Linked DNA regions of Homo sapiens: region 1 is linked to region 2. Evidence: promoter capture Hi-C in human tissues and cell types (Jung and others, 2019). All regions are on one chromosome and are shown on one strand. The core of a region is centred on a gene start or on the middle of the fragment in contact, and the rest is flanking DNA. Distances in the headings are between cores, read along the strand shown.

The links. Contacts are between HindIII fragments. The study calls those that stand out against the background at their distance.
Region 1: a fragment that was not itself captured here is called in contact with the fragment with the promoter of NUDT13 in region 2 in 1 of the 25 tissues and cell types used here (lymphoblastoid cells).

The regions. Positions count from the first base shown.
Region 1 is chr10:72,313,792-72,316,491 of GRCh38, forward strand. No RefSeq gene overlaps it. Among named protein-coding and RNA genes, the nearest start is that of DNAJB12, 40 kb to the right of the region's middle. The HindIII fragment of the contact is 5,549 bases long and covers 1-2,700 here.
Region 2 is chr10:73,109,007-73,111,706 of GRCh38, forward strand. It overlaps NUDT13 (nudix hydrolase 13), which reads left to right and starts at 1,449. Exons shown (of 9, transcript NM_015901.6): 1 at 1,449-1,561. The HindIII fragment of the contact is 13,958 bases long and covers 229-2,700 here.

The DNA of each region.
Region 1 (2,700 bases), core at 192-2,691, 800 kb before region 2:
AATGAATTCCAAATCTGTAAAGCTTAAGATTTTTTATTTTTTATTTAATTTATTTTTATTTTTTTTCTGAGATGGAGTCTCACTCTGTCCCCCAGGCTGGAGTGCAGTGGCGCAATCTCGGCCCACTGCAACCTCCCCTTCCTGGATTCAAGAGATTCTCCTGCCTCAGCCTTCGGAGTGGCTGGGACTACAGGCACCTACCACCACAACTAGCTAATATTTTTTATTTTTAGTAGAGATGGGGTTTAACCATGTCGCCAGGATGGTCTCCATCTCCTGAACTCATGATCCACCTGCCTCGGCCTCCCAAATTGCTGGGATTACAGGCGTGAGCCACCGCGTCCAGCCAAGCTTAAGGCCTTGACAGTATTACCTGTGCTATGGGAATTTTGGACCTTCAAAAAATGTAATTTAGGGCCAGCCACAGTGGCTCACATCTGTAATCCCAGCACTTTGGGAGGCCAAAGCAGGAGAATCACTTGAGCCCAGGAGTTTGAGACCACCCTGGGCAATATAGGGAGACCCCGTCTCTACAAAAGATTTAAAAATTAACTGAGCATGATGGTGAGTGCCTGTAGTCCCATCTACTTGGGAGGCTGAAGTGGGAGGATCACTTGAGCCCAGGAAGCGAAGGTTGCAGCAAGCGAGACTGTGCCACTGCACTCCAGCCTGGGCGATAGACCGAGACCCTGTCTCAATCAATCAATCAATCAATCAATCAGCTGAGCATGGTGGCACATGCCTGTAGTCCCAGCTACTAGGGAGGCTGAGGCAGGAGGATCGCTTAAGCGTGAGAGATCAAGGCTGCAGTGAGCTCTGATCACACCAGTGTATTCCAGCCTGGTGACACAGTGAGACTCTGTCTCTAAGAAAAAACGAAAAAAGAAAATGCAATTTGGCCGGGCGCAGTGGCTCACGCCTATAATCCCAACACTTAAGGAGGCCGAAGTGGGTGGATCACCTGAGGTCAGGAGTTCAAGACCAGCCTGGCCAACATGGTAAACCCTGTCTCTACTAAAAATACAAAAATTAGCCGAGCGTGGTGGTGGTCGCCTGTAATCCCAGCTACTTGGGAGGCTGAGGCAGGAGAATCACTTGAACCAGGAAAGGGGAGGTTGCAGTGAGCACAGATCACGCCTCTGCACTCCAGCCTTGTCAACAAGAGCGAAATTCCGTCTCAAAAAAAAAAAAAAAGAAAGCAAGAAAAAGCAACTTAACATGTAGAACTCTTTCTGGTCATGCCACATTGTTTCTTTTTCCTCATTTCCTTTCACTCACGAGCTCGAGCTCTTTTGAATGCTCAAACGTGTGCTTGTGGTGAGGTGCCCCTGGAATTCCTTTTATTCTAAGACAATGGCCTTCCAGGAGTACCTGCAGGAAGACCTGTTAAGACTGGCCTGGGACCTCCTAGACTTGCCTGGGACCTCCCTGCAGGAGTTGCCAAATGGAACCGGGAGGGAAGAGAGGTTTGCCTTTGCCCTTGGCCTTGGTTTGGGGTGGAGACACCCAGGCTGAGACATTCTCCCCTCCATAGCTGGCCAAGTTCCAATCTGGCATGGCTGTCCCTGCTGCCATTGTCATGGGCTCTTTCGGGGGAGTTCCGGACAGCACCACTGTGCAAAAGATTGTCCTGGCCTCCAGAAAGTCGGCTCCAAATGACACTGAGGGAAGAAAGAGGAAATCTCTGCAGTGTACTTCCCTGAGTTTTTGGGGAATGGTTCTCTTTCCCCTCTTTCCATCCCTTCTCTACAAATCCAGGGCTCACAGTTAAGCCCTAGGTTTGTAACACGGCTTCATAACTAAGAATGGCATTAATTAGCAACACTGTATAAATAAAAAGGGGGGCCAACAAGGATGGAGGGCGTGGGGGGAGTATGTGGTTGGCCATCCCAGGCCACCTTCCTCCTCCAGCTCCCAGGCTTGCTTCAGCTTTGCTGCAAGTTCCTGCCAATATATTTCTGCTTGGGACAGGAGCCAAGGGTCAGATAAAGTTCCAACTGTATTTTGCAGCAGGTCTGACACTTTGCCCAGTGCTCTAGGCCTGTGACAGTGCCAGGATAGTATATTGGGAAAGCCAGTCCAGAAGGAGTTGGTTTAAATGTGTTTGAGGTAGCAGGCAGGTGACTAAGCAGACAGTTCAGCAACACAACACTCAGTAACACCATCAGACCAATGTGGCTCCCAGGGACATGGAAGGCCTGTGTTCCTTTCCCAGGAAGCCCCCAGCAGCTACCGTGCTCATGCCCCAGCATTTCAGGGACCAAGATCTGTAGCCCCATTTTGTGATCTTTAGTAAGACAAGTAAACACTGAACACTAAGTGTGCTTATGCCAACCACTTTACATACATGATCTGATGGAATCCTCAGCACAGCTGATGAGGGAGTTACTGTTATTTTCCTAGCCATACAGTTAGTAGCTGACACTACAGGGAACAGACACACTTACTGTCTATGAGGATCTCTTCTAAACACTTTCCATGCATTAACTAATTTTTTGGGGAAACTGAGGCAGAGCAGGAGCAAAGCCAGTTGTCCAGTGTCACACAACTGGTGGGTGTGGACCTGAAACCACTGGAGGCTGGGTGATTCCAGAATGGAGGGTTCACCCCTGCACTACCCCCTGATTTTCCAAGTGGGGTAACAGGTTCGGAGACAGTCAGGGAAGAGAAACCAGGGTGAGATGGGTTAGTTCAGATGAG
Region 2 (2,700 bases), core at 199-2,698:
CAGGAGAATCACTTGACTCCGGAGGAGGAGGTTTCAGTAAGCCAAGATTGTACGTACCACTGCTCTCCAACCTGAGCGACAGAGCAACTCCATCTCAAAAAAAAAAAAAGTGTCTTCTCTCATAGGCAAGTAACTTCAGTAGTAAAACGAGAAGAGAGCAGCACCAAAGTAGCTCTGCTGAGAGGTGAAGCCAGCTGGACTTCCTGGGTGGAGTGGGGACTTGGTGAACTTTTCTGTCTAGTTAGAGAATTGTAAATGCACCAATCAGCACACTGTAAAAATGCACCAATCAGCACTCTGTGTCCAGCTAAAGGATTGTAAACACACCAATCAGCACTCTGTAAAAATGCACCAATCAGCGCTCTGTGTCTAGGTAAAGGATTGTAAACGCACCAATCAGCACTCTGTTTCCAGCTAAAGGATTGTAAACACACCAATCAGCACTCTGTAAAAATGCACCAATCAGTGCTCTGTGTCTAGCTAAAGGATTGTAAACACACCAATCAGCACTCTGTGTCTAGCTAAAGGATTGTAAATGCACCAATCAGCACTGTGTCTAGCTAAAGGATTGTAAACGCACCAATCAGCACTCTGTAAAAACGCACCAATCAGCACTCTGTGTCTAGCTAAAGGATTGTAAATGCACAAATCAGCACTCTGTCAAATGGACCAATCAGCACTCCATAAAATGGACCAATCAGTGCTCTGTAAAATGGACCATTCAGCAGGATGTGGGCAGGGACAAATAAGGGAATAAAAGCTGGCACCCCCAACAGCAGCGGCAACCTACTCGGGTCCCCTTCCACGCTGTGGAAGCTTTGTTCTCTCGCTCTTCACAATAAATCTTGCTGCTGCTCACTCTTTGGGTTCGTGCCACCTTTAAGAGCTATAACACTCACCGAAAGCTCCACGGCTTCATTCTTGAAGTCAGCAAGACCAAGAACCCACTGGAAGGAACCAACTCCGGACACACTTCTAGGAGACTACTTCCAGTCAAATGGAATGCGCTTCCTCTGATCAAGAAATGAATCCTACCATAAGTTCAAACATATCTATACATACCTATACAGAGTCCCATCCTTTTAAATTGGAAGAACTTCATGAAATTTTAGAGCTAGTTCTAAAGTGTGCAGAGAGAGAACTAGAGATATACTAAGGTTAAAAGGTATTTGATTCCCACCCCTGCTTCATCCTCTCCCCAGCCTCATAATATATGCCTTCTGTGTATGAGGGTGGACTTAATGACTTTATCTTTTTTTAATTAAAAAATGGATCTAATACTAACCTACTTTCTCCAAGGATACAGTAGTTCTCTTGGTAATAAGATCTTAGATGTTCATGCTTTTGACAATCATGGTTAACTTGCAGCTGGAGAACACAGCAGCATGCCTGGGAACTGAACTACAATTCCCAGAGTGCATCTCTAGGAGGATTCTGGGAAGTGTGGCAGAAGCAGCAATGGTCCCTCCAGGGAACGGAAGCCGTTGAACGTGAACATTTGGAGTTTCCTCTTTTGTGCTGATTCCTGAGGACTAGGAAGGTGCCCCGAAAAGAATTCAGAGTGAGTACAGTGAAACAGAAACCTGCTCAGCTTCTAAGTGCAGGAAGGACTTCACAGGGAGGCATGATCAGAACTTGAAAAAAGGTCGTGGTCACAGCATTTTAACATTTTAGCTTAATCTCTTCCTTTTTGCAGAAACCAGGGATATAACCATAGTTTTGCCTCATAACTGTGGAGCTACATCAGTAACCACAGCTCATCATTTTCTGATACTTTTTTGGAGAGTCATTTAAAAATGGAACTTGCCAACCTCTCACATTGTGCCTTAATTTTTATTTTTTTTTAAAGGAGGGAAAATTATTTTTTAGAAAGCAAACTATAAAGCAGGTCAGTGAGACCTTCAAAGCTGTATTCCCGTGGTTCCTCAGTTTTCCATATTTCCCTGTCCCATGGAGGTCCACAGTCGTGGAGAAACGGACTCTAAACACAGGCGAAGTATCACTTGGTCGCCCAGGCTGGAGTGCAGTGACACGATCTCCACTCACTGCAAGCTCCGCCTCCTGGGTTCATGCCATTCTCCTGCCTCATACTCCCTAGTAGCTGGGACTACAGGCGCCCGCCACCACGCCCAGCCACTTTTTTTTGTATTTTTAACAGAGACGGGGTTTCACCGTGTTAGCCAGGATGGTCTCGATCTCCTGACCTCGTGATCCGCCCACCTCGGCCTCCCAAAGTGCTGGGATTACAGACGTGAGCCACCGCGCCCGGCCTAAAAAAAGGTCTCTTAAATACTAGGGAACCTGGCCTCTTCACGGTGGAAGTAACCACTAGATTCAAGATGGGCTTTTTTTGTTTTGTCTTGTTTTGTTTTGTTTTTTTGTTTTGAGACGGAGTCTCGCTCTGTCGCCCAGGCTGGAGTGCAGTGGCGCGATCTCGGCTCACTACAAGATGGGCTTTTTTGTCACGCTGTAGTACTTTATAATCTTTCTTCTGGAAAGATGAACAGGATAAGAAACGTGTGAATCATTTGTGTTGGGGAGTTCAAAGAAACTCTTAATGTTAAAGCACCTTGCCTCATCATTTAGTAGTTGGGTAAGACTGCTATTACCTTTCATCTCTATCAAACATTGTACTTTTAAAAACATAAATAGCTCTGTGACCATCAGCTCATGAGTCAGCAGCCATGATAATCTACAACT